3 separate regions of the Homo sapiens genome follow, and all the other regions are linked to region 1. Evidence: promoter capture Hi-C in human tissues and cell types (Jung and others, 2019). All regions are on one chromosome and are shown on one strand. The core of a region is centred on a gene start or on the middle of the fragment in contact, and the rest is flanking DNA. Distances in the headings are between cores, read along the strand shown. Region 1 holds the start of NSFL1C (NSFL1 cofactor). Region 2 has its middle 28 kb from the start of SIRPA. Region 3 overlaps PSMF1 (proteasome inhibitor subunit 1).

What was found. The method cuts DNA at HindIII sites, captures the fragments that hold promoters and counts their contacts. A contact is called where the count stands out against the background at its distance.
Region 2: a contact is called between a fragment that was not itself captured here and the fragment with the promoter of NSFL1C in region 1, in 1 of the 25 tissues and cell types used here (lymphoblastoid cells).
Region 3: a contact is called between a fragment that was not itself captured here and the fragment with the promoter of NSFL1C in region 1, in 1 of the 25 tissues and cell types used here (mesenchymal stem cells).

What each region holds. Positions count from the first base shown.
Region 1 is chr20:1,464,567-1,469,090 of GRCh38, reverse strand. It overlaps NSFL1C (NSFL1 cofactor), which reads left to right and starts at 2,242. Exons shown (of 9, transcript NM_016143.5): 1 at 2,242-2,371. The coding sequence starts at 2,267. RefSeq lists a silencer at 1,948-2,217 and an enhancer at 2,512-3,013. The HindIII fragment of the contact is 15,990 bases long and covers 1-3,142 here.
Region 2 is chr20:1,865,269-1,869,792 of GRCh38, reverse strand. No RefSeq gene overlaps it. Among named protein-coding and RNA genes, the nearest start is that of SIRPA, 28 kb to the left of the region's middle. The HindIII fragment of the contact is 5,699 bases long and covers 1-4,524 here.
Region 3 is chr20:1,132,729-1,137,252 of GRCh38, reverse strand. It overlaps PSMF1 (proteasome inhibitor subunit 1), which reads right to left. Exons shown (of 7, transcript NM_006814.5): 4 at 1,947-2,132. Among named protein-coding and RNA genes, the nearest start is that of PSMF1, 16 kb to the right of the region's middle. The HindIII fragment of the contact is 4,599 bases long and covers 1-4,288 here.

The sequences.
Region 1 (4,524 bases), core at 993-3,492:
GGAGAGACAGTGTGGTGTAGCGGTTAGAAGCAGACTCAGGAGCTGTGCCATACCTGGATTCAAAACTCTTTAGAAGTCTAGGTTTCCCCATCTGCAAAATGGAAATGATAACAATAGAACTCACTTCATAGGGTGCATGAGTTAGTGTATCTAAGGCTCTTTGCAGAGTGTCTAGGGGCATAGTAAGTGCTCAGTAAACACTAGCTGCCAGGTAGTGTTATGGGAAAGGATGCCCTCAAGTCCTCTAGAAGAGGGATCAGGGACCCTCTGGCCGAACAAAGAGCTTTCCCTGATGGCACAAAAATGAAGAGGGGGGGTGACAATGAGTTTCAATGACTCCAATACCAGCCAGGGAACTGGACCTTGAGGAGCTGATCGCCTGCAGATCTTTAAGCTGGGGTTAGTCGTTGTCAGTTTCCAGGGTAGAAAGACCTTACTGGTTGCCAATCGTGAGGTCCAGAGTGAGCCTCTAGCTTCTTGGACTTCCTGGAAAGTTGGGGTGCATTTCGAGTTGACACAATGATGAAAGGGGTAAGTCCTAGGGACCGGGGCTGGTCCTGGGTGGCCTTGCAATAGAAAGGAGAGTCTCACACCACAAAGAAAGGACCCTCCTCCCATGCCTCCTGCCAGGGCCTATTGTGGCTGCAACCATGCTCCTAATAACCTAACCCAAGCCCTAACTCGTTTGTCATATAAACTTAAAGGATTTCTTGCACAGTGTTAATAAGACACCGAATTTTCCAGGAAAGCAACTATTGTGTCAATTGAGGGAAGACTGGACTTTGTGCTGTTCATAACCTGATTAAGAGGGGTTTTGACTAAGCCTGGGCACCTTCTCAAGGTCTCCTTGAGAAAGGGACACCTGAACTGAGAGCTGAAGAATGAGCAGGGGCCGACAGAGGAAGAGGAAGGGAAGAGTGTCCCACGGTGGTGTTGGAAATTAAAGCTCGAAGTCTCAAGGAAAACCAGCACTGAAATAAAAGATTTTTCAGCAAAGCCAATTTACTTCTGCAGAAGGGTGCCACTCACACATCTGGTCTTCAGGAAAGCACACCGAACAAAAGAGAGAAGGGGTTTTTATCCCTAATGCGGTTAGTCGCTGCTTCTGTGTCCTGTTCCCATTGGCTGGGGCTGGACTGCGCAATCTAAGCTAATCCCGATTGGCTAGTTCAAATGGAGCAGAAATGTGGGCTACAGTGGTAGGGCAAGCGGTTTCGGCAGGAAGAAGAGTTTCCGCGGGAATGGCAATTGTAGCGAGGGTATCCAAGGGAACAGATGTGAGTTATAGATTAGGACCCGCGGGAAGGTTGTTTACCGTAACTAGGGGTAAGGAGGTACAAAGAACAAGGAAGTTAGGCTTTGAAAATAGAGAACAAAGAACAAGTAAGCTGAACAAGTAAGTTCCTCTTTGGAGAGGCAAGAGGGCAAAGAAGCTGAGGACCCAGAAGACAGGATTGTGCCTAAGAAAGTGGCCTTGGAGCAGAGGCCCAAAGAAAGCGGGGAGAGCGCCTTGCCCATCGGTAAGGGAAAGGTGCTCCAGGCACAGAAGCAGCTAATGCAACGGCCCTGAGGCAAATGCAAGATAACTGGCAAGTTCCAGGAACAGCAAGGAGGGCAAGGCGCCTGGAGCAGAGGAAGCTAGCGGATCCCTTGATGAGAGGGAGGAACTGGCCCATCTCTCATGGGTCCTGCAGGCAGGCCATGAGACTGTCTTTTATGCGGGGCGAGATAACGAGGCATGGACGTGTTGTGAGCGGAGGCCTAGCCTGTTCAAGGTCTGAATTTTTACCCCTAGAATGTAAGAAGCATGGGAGCAGGGACTTTGTTTTGCTCCCTGCCATATCCACAGCCCTAGAAAAACGTCGGGCCATTGATAGCTCTCAGTAAATGCTTGACAAGTAAGTGAATGAACGAATGCACAATTAATGAAATGAGGGCTGCGTCAATGAATAACTGGGAATCTGACTCCTGCAGGGAGCCTTCAGCCCACAGGTGTATGTAAGACCCGCCCCGCCTCTCATCCTTCGGGCTCCCACCCCCGCCGTTAGGCTGCGGTTCGCGCCGCGGTCGCCAGAGGGCGCGGAGCGGCGGGGCTTCCCGCACGGAGGGCTTTGCGTGAGGCACCGCGTGGGGCGGGGCTGCGGGCGGGCTCCCAGCTGCTGGGCCCTCATCGGCTGGGCCTCGTCGACCGGCAAGCGGAACGCGGCAGCGGGGCTGGGCCTGTGCGGCGGCCGCCGGAGCGCTTTGGAAGGCGCACGGGGCGAAGATGGCGGCGGAGCGACAGGAGGCGCTGAGGGAGTTCGTGGCGGTGACGGGCGCCGAGGAGGACCGGGCCCGCTTCTTTCTCGAGTCGGCCGGCTGGGACTTGCAGGTAGCGCCGCGCGGCGGGCTGTGTCGGGTGGGCCGGGGACTGCTGGGAGCGGGCGCCTGGTGCCTTAAGCCCGCGGCGGCCGAAGCGCACAGTCATCCCCGCTCTACCGCGGCCCGACCCAGGCCTCATGGTCCCGGGACCGCTTGTCACGCGTCGCCTGCTCGGCTTGGGAGTGGGGGAACGCGGGCCAGCCCCAGCCAGTTCTGCCGTGCCAGTTTCACCCTGCCTCGCCCGCTTGCGGCGTCAGCGAGACTTCGGGCGCTGCGGCAGCCGGCGAGGAGAGGGAGCGCCTGGGGGCGTGGCTGCCGCGCCGAGTATCTGCTGGAGGCCGGGCTGGTCCGAGTGAGCAGCTCTTGGGTGAAGCCCCACTCGGGACTAGGTGGCCGCTCATTTCCACTTCCGAAGTCCAGCCCGGGAGTTGACCGCCGCCCAGCCTTCCTAATTGCTGGGAGAATACCTCTGGGGTGGTGGCGCAAGGTTGGAGCTTCTTCACCTTGCGTAGTTAACTTATCTGTAAAATGGGAGTCTCGTGGAAATTGCTGTGTAGTTCATTGGCACGTACTGAGTATTCACTAAATACTTGCTAAGAAGACTTAAGCTTCACGAGGCAGGGATTTTTGTACACTGATGAATTCCCAGTGCCTGGAACAATGCCTGGCACATAATAAGCATTCGGTAATTAACTGTAGAAAGAATTGCATAAATATTCTTGGCCAGCTTCGTCTTAGGTAGATGATGACGGTGATGACTAATATTTATTGAGTACCTACCATGAGCCAAGCGCTGTTCTGACTGCTTTACATGTCTTTTGTCATTTAACCTTCGCATTTTGCAGCTGAGATTAAAGAGGTTAAGTAACTTGCTCAAGGCCTCACTAGCTACCAGGCAGAAGAGGTAGAAGTGGAACCCAGTTCTGTCTGATTGCAAGCAGACAGAGCCCAAGCTTTAAACCACCATGTGCCAAGCACTTTACATAATATGATTCGTTGGATCCTAGCAACACTATGAGGTAAAGACTAGACCCATTTTATGGATGAGGAATTGGAAGCACAGAGGGCAAAGAATTTGCTCAGGGTCACATAGCCAGTAAGTAGCGGGGTTGGAATTTGAACTGAGTCTGCTGCCAAACGTAAATTACTCCCCAAACATAAGAATTCGGTAAAGCATCACACCTAGATCACACCTAGACACAATGGGAAGCCCCTATGCTGGGCAGAAATAAAAAGTTTCTACCTGAAAGACCTAAAAGCACACAGTGTTGTGACCAACAGATCTTCTGTCTCGTTCCCCTCACATTGTAGTGGGGAAACTGAGGATCATGCATGTGACTTGCCTGGCAGGAACAGGACTTGAATGTAGGCTCCCTGAGAATGCCAGTTCACTACATGGCCTGAGACAGCACACTGCCTCCCAGCAGATTACTTTTATCCCTTGACAGCTCACTGTCTCCTGTGAAGTTGGTGACCCTGAGGACAGAGGCCATGTCTATTTCATCTCTGTGACCTCAATGCTTTCTTGTGTTTGTGCAAAGCAAGTGATTAGTGAATGCCTGTCCGTTGAGTTGGTGACAGAGATGTCACAAATGACCAAAGGATTCCCATATTCCTTCTGTATGTGTAAACCTAAGATGCGAGTATGCATAAATCTTAATGGATTATCTCATCCAGTGTGCAGGTTGGTGAGACAGGTACCCCCATTTCACAGATTAGGAAACAACTTGAAAGAAAGGAAAAGTAGCAACCTGGACTGACTCCACAGTTCCTGACTCCGGGCTGTACTGGAAGCGCTTAAGAGTGAGGGCCTAAGCACACTAGCAGGGATGGAACCTGGCTCCTCTCTTTACCAGTTGTGTAAACTTGAACAAATTTTTTTTTAATCCTCAGTGCTTCTGTATCAACTATAAAATGAGATGATAAGAGTACTAATAGCATAGAGTTCTTGAGGATTAAACAAATTAACGTATGTAGAATGCTCAGAACAACCTGGCATGTAAATGCTCACTAAATGTGTGCTACTTTTACTAGATCACGTTTCTTCATAAAATGAGAATAAAGAGTGTCTTCCACCCCAGCCATTCTTACTGCCTTCTTTTCACCTTAGTGGGTGGAATTTGTTTCAGTTGACACGAAGACTAACAGCTGAGCTGTTAACCT
Region 2 (4,524 bases), core at 785-3,284, 400 kb before region 1:
TTTAATTGTGAAGCATCATGGCACAAAACAACAGAAATTTATTGTCTCACAATTCTGGGGGCTAGAAGTTCATGATCAAGGGGTCAGCAGGGTTGGTTTCTTTTGAAGCACCAGTATCACAGCCAATTGTGACACTTCGTTTTTTGTTTGTTTGTTTTTGTTTGTGTTTTGAGTTGGAGTCTCACTCTGTCTCCCAGGCTGGAGTGCAGTGGCATGATCTTGGCTCACTGCAACCTCCACCTCTTGGGTTCAAGCCATTCTTCTGCCTCAACCTCCCAAGTAGCTGGGATTACAGGCACCCGCCACCATGCCCTGCTAATTTTTGTATTTTTAGTAGAGAGGAGATTTCACCATGTTGGCCAGGCTAGTCTTGAATTCCTGACCTCAAGTGATCTACCCGCCTCAGTCTCCCAAAGTGCTGGGATTACAGTCATGAGCCACAGCGGCTGGTCGAGTGTGATACTTCGTTATGGCAGCGCTAGCAAATTAATCCAGTGCATTTGCTCATCCAGTCCTTACAAGATCTGCACAGTAAGTCTCATAATTACCCCATTCTGCAGATAAGGAAACAGGCTCAGAGAGGGACAGCGACTTGCCCAACATGACCCAGTTCAGCTCTGTTCTGACCCCAAAGCCAGAGGCAGCGTGCAGTCTAGTGAGAAGATGGGCTTTCACAAGCAAAACTGATGAAGCTGCCTTGGCCATCTGCCCTCATGACTGGGCAGTGCTGTGTGAGCTCAGAGGACCAAGGGCTCCATTTAGGGCAGTCAGCCAGGCTTCCTGCAGGAGGCAGAAGCCCCTGGGCCTTGCAGAGTAAGTACAATTTCGTTAAGGATAGTGAAACCACAGAATTCAGGGTAGACAGCTGCTGTTCAGGGGTGTGGAGGGAGGAATCCTCATGGCCTCCTTGGGTAGGTGCCTCAGTTGCTCATTTGGACAGAGCACAGGGTCCAAACTAGGTCATGGCCGGTCGGGGGAGGAGAGGAGGAAGTGAAGAATTGACGCCAGGTGAATCATCTGGCATGTGTAGTGTGAAGTTATCACATGAGACTGGATTTTAATGTTTTGGTTTTAGGACCCCTTTATACTCTTAAAAATTACTGTGGACCCCAAAGAATTTTGTTTATGTCAGTTTATCTATTGATAGTTACCATGTTAGGAATTAAAACATTTAAGAAACACACTTGGCCAGGTGTGGTGACTCATGCCTATAATCCCATCACTTCAGAAGGCTGAGGCAGGCAGATCACTTGAGGTCAGGAGTTCGAGACCAGCCTGGCCAACATGGTGAAACCCCATCTCTACTAAAAAAAATACAAAAACTAGCTGGGTGTGGTGGTGCGCACTGGTAGTCCCAGCTACTTGGGAGGATGAGGCAGGAGAACTGCTTGAATCTGGGAGGCAGAGGTTGCAGTGAGCTGATATCACACCACTGCACTTCAGCCTGGGCACAGAGTGAGATCTGAAATAAAAAAGAAAAAAGAAGAAGAAAGAAAGGAAAGGAAGGAAAGGAAAGGAGGAAAGAAAGAAAGAAAGAAAGAAAGAAAGAAAGAAAGAAAGAGAAAGAAAGAAAGAAAGAAAGAAAGAGAAAGAAAGAAAGAAAAGAAAAGAAAAGAAAAGAACACTCCATTAGTTGTCAAAGCGAGGTCATCTTCCTAACAATCTTCTAGTGTGTTACTATTATAATCCCATTTTACAGATGAGAAAACTGAGGTCCAGATAAGCTGAGTCATCCAAAGTCTCACAGCTACCATGTGAACTGAGCCAGGATTTGAACCCAGGCATTCTGCCTCCAGAGCCCAGGCTGTTAACTGCTGCATCATGCTGGACATGCTGCACCTGCCCCCATTCCTACCCCAGGTATGGAGTTTGGACATTATCCTAGGAGTCTTGGGCTAAATCCCTGGAGCCTGTCTATAGCCAGTAGAATGGGGTACAAGGAGTTAAGCTTTCCCGAGATGAGATTTCAAACCGTGAAAGGGATGCTTTACCCCAGAGGCACACCAGGCATCCCACACCCACCTCCACACAAGACAGGGGTGAGAAGTCTGCTCTCACAGCCAAAGCCTTTGAAATGTTATTTCCTGAAGTGTTGCCTCACCCCTACCACAGCTCAAAGCCTCTGGGACTGGGGCTCCCTCCAGGAAGCAGCTGGTCCCCATCCTTCCTCCTGCATAGAGCCTGGGACCAGCCAGGACCAGAGATAACTTAGCTCTCTGTAGGGTATAGGGCAGGATAAGTCCTGGCTAAAATCTGCCCTCCCACTGAAAGCCTTGCCCAGCCCACATGCACCTTGATTTAGCTCATTTTTACTGTATTTGCAGGGGACCTCCTGTGTGCCATGACGCTTCACAATCAGAACCTCGCTTAAGCCTCATGACAACTTTATGCATCTGGTCATTTTGCAAATCCAATCAATCAATACGGAGCACTTGCTATGTTCCTGATGCTAAACTAGATACCAGGGACACGGTGCAGAGGATGAAGACAGATAAGGACCCATCTCTTGGGGAACTTACCGTCTAGAGAGAGAAGACAGCCAGACGAGGAGAGAGGCAATCGTGGGCAGTGCAGGAGAACAGGAAACACAGGGGGCTTTGCAAGCACAGAATAGGGACTCAGTAAATATTCGTGGTTGAATGGAAAGCTCTTAGGATAATGGCTCTCAGGTAGCTCTCCAATGTGCCAGCCTATTGTGTTAGTTAGGGCAGGATAACTGCTGTTACAGACAACCCCCAAATCTCAGTGACTCATAATCTGTTTACTTGTCACTCAGGTCACAGTCCAGTGTAGGTCAACTCCTCATGGTCACTCAGAGACCCAGGTCCTTCCATCCAGGGGAGGGGATCTTGATTTCTTTTTTGATCTTCTGCATCCCCCGGCAGAGGAGAGGAAAAGACAGGGTGTGGAGGAGCATGGGGGAGGTTTTATGGGCAGGCCTGGAAGGGATTCATGGCCAATTCACCTGGTCTTGTGTGGGGGTGTAGGTAGTGACCTAGGAGTGAAGGAAGGAGCAGTGTCATGCCCAGCAGTTCCCCCAGGTGAATTCAATGGAGGAGAGGTGATTTTCCTAAACAATGAGGGTTACTTAGGAAGGGGGCATGGATTCTGGGTGGTCACAGCCTTCTAACCGGTATATATTCACTGCAGTATGCTAGTCAGGATTCTTTTAGCTTCAACTGATAAAAACCCAACTCAAACTACTTAAGGAAAAGAGGGAATGTATTGGTTCTGGTCTAGGAAGGTGGTTTCAGGAATGGCTGGATACAGGAACTCAACAGGGTCATCTTTTCTGGTTGGCTTTAGCCTCCAGGCAGGCTGTCAATGTGTGGTAGGGAAGCAGGCCACCAGCAGGTACACCCAAACATGTATGCAACAAGCCCAGCAAGGCTGGCAGGAGCGAGGCATATGTATCATTTATCTGTGTACATCTATAATATGTATGTCATATATCATGTATCCTCTCTATATATCATATATCCATGTACATATCACATATGTCATATATTGTATATCCTATATATATCATATATATGTCATATATCCTCTATACACATCATACATCCATGTATATATATCTATCATATACATGTCATATACCTACATATATTATGTATCCATATCTATGCCACATACTCATCCCAGAAAATCACTTTGGTCCTGAATGGGACCCATGACCACTCTTGTTTTGGTGATCTTGATGGAAACCCCAAGTTTACATGGTGTGGAGGAGGGACCATTTTCCGAAAAAGGGACTCAGACAGACAATACCGTCAAGTTCGCTACAGGAGAGATTACTAGATCTTTCCAAGAACATTGGGTCTATCTCACAGTCCTAGGTGTCAAAAGGAAAAGAGAAAAGCAAGGTGTCAAAAGGAAAAAAGAGGAAACTTGAGAAAAATAGGTGTCTAATCTCTTTGTTAATAGCCAATTTCTAGGAGCCAGGTATGGACTATGTGATTTTTATGGCATCTACATATAATGTTGCTTTCTTCCTCACTTAAGTTCAGAAGCAGTAGGAGACCGAGGAGTCAAGAGGTGAGGAACAAAATGTCAGCTTATTACAGATAAAGCTGTTTAGAGAACGTGGCTTGGGCATGCAGGCAAATGGAACTGCTAACACTGATCCTCAGAGTTGGACAGCCTTACCTTTGCAATCACAGGTAGATGGATAAACACAGACCTCTCCCCTCTGACTCCTGGGACAGAACATGTCTTCACAGGTAGCTGATCCCAGGTTGAGAGAGGGCTCCCCTCTTCATACTCACCAATCATTCAGTCCAGGTTTGTTGCTCTGATGGAGGCCACCCCAACCCCCAGCCCCTTTTCAAATGTGCACCACAGTAGGGAATGAGGCCAGGACCTGAGACCTGGCTGCCTGGTGGGTAGACCCTGGAATGTACAAGCAAACAGCCCCTAATGCCAGGAGCTCCTGGTTCCCGAGGAAACAGATGAAATTTGTGATGGGCAGAGAGTCAGAGAAAGAAGCATTCTTGTTTTCCTTTATTTTTTCAAAAATGACTA
Region 3 (4,524 bases), core at 740-3,239, 330 kb after region 1:
TCTCAGTTCTTCCAAGGCTAGGATTTTTACTTTCACAATTCTATACTCTACGTCTATGATTCCCAAATAGGGAAGCATAGCCTCCAGGTGCCATAGTGCAAGCCCTGGGGTCATTTTTGCTTGTCATAGTAGTTGGAGGGCGTTCTTGGCATTTACAGGCAGAGACCAGAGATGCTGGATGTTCTACAATTCATAGTAGAGTTTCACGAAATGAAGAATGACCTGCATCCCACACAATTTTCAAATGTCTTGTTAGATACTCATGGAGGTGTAAAGCCTAAATAAATTATCTGAATGTAAGGCCATTTTATATATGAACACTAAGTATTTTTTTCTACTACTTTAAAACAAGCACATTTTTCCAGGAATGTAACTATGGTATAACTGAAGAAACAATATTCAATCACTATTTTGTTTGCAATTCTCCTAACAGCTGTTTACCATTTCAAAAAAGTCATGTTAGTAACAGCAACAGAGTTTTGTGGTATTTGAGTTGTTGACATAATACATCTATATACAACAGCCTTTGTCACTGTTGAATTCAAGATAATTCCACATACAGGTGTAAACATCCATGCTCTCCAGTGTACTCAGGCACCTACGCATGGAATACACATCATCATCTTATCAATTACTCTCTTTTTCTAATTTATGTTATAGTTAGGACTTTATACTGATTTCCTCTGAAATGTGCATGAGGTAAGTTAGAATACCTATGAATTCCATTTCAATATAGTAAGGGATATTTCACAGAATACTTGTTTTGAAATGGGCATTGGGTCTAATAAAGCTGAGAATTACTATTTACTTTAGGTCTAAAATTTTTTCCCAACTTGACTTCTGACCAGGGCTTATTCTTAAATCTTTCCACCATGGAAAGGTGGTTAGATCACATCTGTTTACATCACAGCCAGAGCACTGTGCAGGGAGTAAGGACACCTAGACCCCAGCCCTGGCTCTGCCTCTTTATTAGTGGCTGGCGAACTCAGGCAGGTCATCTTATCTCTATTCCCTTTGGTAAAATAAGATATATCAGACAAGCCATTTTCAACCTTTTCAACCACTTTTTCTTATTCTCCATTCTCTTCACAGGACTCAATATTTTTGGTAAAGATTTTGCCAAAGAGATACGCCAATCATTACTTGGAATAATTAAACTGATTTCCCATTTTTAGCTAACTAAAGGCATATAATTGCAAACCAGAATAAAATAACAATGGTAGTCTACATTTATTAAGTGCTTATTCATGTCCCTCACAGTGAACTCTGTCCCTTATCCCTACCAACAGTATGGTATCACAGTACGGGCTCCAAACTGAGAAGTGCTGTCTCAGCTAGAGACTAGGGTCCCCTGGTCCTTGTCTCCTCCCTCTGAGCAGAAGTCTCCAGTCCTAATGCTGCCATCCTAATCTGCAAAAACCTTGGAATGTGACTCACTCACATCCCATGCTATTTTGGAAAACTTCTGAACTTGATAGTGAGATTGGGGGACTACAATGAAATGAAATGGGCAAGACACTGGGACTGCATCTCCTCTGGGCTAGTACCTCTACATGTTTACATTTTCTCAGAAAGACTGGCCCAGGGCCCTGTCTAGACAAAAAGCTCTGGAATGAATTAGCTGTGAATTACCTGGGCAGCAACCTTAGACTACTGCACATAAGCCCCAGAGGCACTGATCCTTGGACAGACTCAGGGGCTCTGTGTGGCCCCTAGAAAGAAATCAGGCAGGCTTAGGATTTTGGGTAATTAGGGTGACTAGTAGCAGTTCAAGAACTCACTGCTCCACTTACGTCTCCACTTTCTAACTCCATGCACCCCAAGACACTGATCATTTTGTTGAAAACACATACGGGCCAGGGATGGGGTCAAGTGGCAGGATGGGGATAGCTGGCTGGAATCCCTCTACAGAAGCATGGGCTTCCCGCTAGGCACTCTGTACTCACCAGGGAGGCTGCCGACTGGTGTGTGGGTGGTGTGGAGGAATCCGGAGTGGGTCCACCTCTCTGGCGGTAGCAGGGGGGAACTCCCGGTGGGGACTGCTTACATTAGCCTTTTCCCACTGCTCATGGATAGGTGTGATGATTCCAGACACAATACGAGACCGAAGCTCCTCACTGTTCTTGTAGGTCCTGCAGGAAGCAGATGAAGAGTCAACTGCTTGCAGTTGGCTAGGAACCCTGGAAGTGGTATTCTGGCTGCAACGACGGCGGCGGCGGCGGCCCTGATAGCTCCTGGCATTGCGCTTGGCCTGTTTATAAGTGGGGGAACAGGCCGCCTGCTGGACCTGGGTGAGGGGGGCAACAGCCCCACGCTGTCTCTGAGATTTGGGCCCAAGCTTCTTAGGCATCTGAGTTGCCCCTCCTTGTTTACCACCCCATTAGAAAGAGGTGAGGGTGTAGGGGCACAGGGCCTGGATTGGCTACTCCTCTGTCCTCACCCGCCTCACCCCTCCCTCAGCTTCATTGTGTGTTCATCACGTGTCATGGGAAGGGTCATGGAAGGCAAAGGCTCCATGGGGAGGATGAACCAGGTTCCTGTTCCAGGCAGGCAGAGCTCTGGGGGTTCAAGGTCCAGTTCTGTCACTAACTCAGGGGTCCTCGGAAGGCTGCCCCTACCACCTGTCCCATCCTGCCTGGGCCTCTTTTTCTATGCCTGTGAGAGACAAGTGACGTGAGCCACAGCTGAGGTGTGGAGGCAGGCTGAGGTAACAGAGTGGGCAGGACTCCAGGCTTCCTAAAACACTGGTATTTTAAAATGAACCACATCCTGGCCCATAAAGCAAAGCTCACAAATGTAAAATAACTGAAATCATATAAAGTATGTTCTCCAACCATATGGAATCATAACAGAAATCAAAACAAAAAGTTAACTCTCTAAATACATGAAAATTAAGCAACATACTTCTAGAAAATCCTTGGATCAAAGTCACAAAAAAGAAATATATAGCACTGAATTAAAATGAAAATAAAAACATACGAAAATATGTGGGATATAACTAAAGGATTGCTGAGAAGAAACCTCATAGCACTAAATGCTTACATCAAAATAGAGGAAGGAATTCAAATCAATAACCAAAATTCTGACCTAAAGAACCTAGAAAAAGAAGAGCAAATTAACTCAAAGCAAGCAGAAGTAATAAAGGTAAGAACAGAAGTCAATAAAAAAGAAAAACAAGAGAGAAAATGAAACAAAGTCAATTCTTCAAAAAAAAAGAATAAAACTGACCAACTCCTGGCGAGACTGACAAATACAAAGAGAGGACACAGTCACCAATAACAAGAACGAAACAGGAGATATTACAATAGATCTGTAGCCACTGAAAGGATAATAAGAGAATACTAAGAACAACTTAATCCAACAACTCAGAATAGACCAATTCTTAAAAACCATAAACTACAACTCAGCCAAAATGAAATAGATAATCTGAATAGTTCCATTAAAGAAACTGAATTACACTTAACATTCTAAAAAAATAAAATAAAAAAACAAAAACCAAAAATCTCCAGGCTCAGATGATTTCAGGAAGAATTCTACCAAACATTCAAAGAAGAATTAACACCAATTTTACAGTCACTTCTAGAAAATATATGAGGAGGGAATACGTTCCAATCCATTTCATGAGACCAGTATTACTCTGGTATCAAAACCAGGCAAAGACTACACCAAAAAAAAAAAAAAAATATATATATATATACACATATATAGACTAGTATATCCTATGAACTTACACACAAAAAAAATCCTCAACAAAATATGAGCAAATTGAATTTAAAAATGTATAAAAAGAACTATATGCCATGACCAAGTATGATTTGTTCTAGGCATGCAAGACTGGTTAATAGTCACAAATCAATCAACGTAATCTACCATATCAATAAGCTATGGAAGAAAAATCATATGATCATATCAATTGATACAGAAAAAAGCTTTTGACAAAATCCAACATGATAAATCCATTCAAGATTAAAAACTCTCAACAAACTAAGAATAAAGGGGAACTTCTTTAACCTGATAAAGAACATTTACAAAAAACCTACCCCTAACAATATACTTTACTGTGAAAGACTGAATGCTTTGCTCCTAAGATTGGGAACGAGGAAAGCATATTCTTTCTCATCACTCTTATTTAACATAATATTGGACATCCTGACCACTGCAATAAGGCAAGAAAAACAAAAGGCATTCATATTAGCAAGTAAGGAATAAAACTGTCCCTATTTGCAAATGACATGATAGTCTACCCTGAAATTCCCAAGGAATCTACCAAAAAAAAAAAAAAACAAAAAAACCCTAAACACCTTGAATTCAGCAAGGTGACAGGATAGAAGAGTTCAACACAGGAAAATCAACTACATTTCTACACACTAACAATGAACATTTGAAAACCAAAACAAAGGACAGAATATGCCATTCATAATCATCTCCCTTTCTGCTTTAAACAAATAACAAGCTATGTACAGGATCTATATGTTGAAAATTACAAATGATACTGATGGAAATCAAATAAAACCTAAATATTAA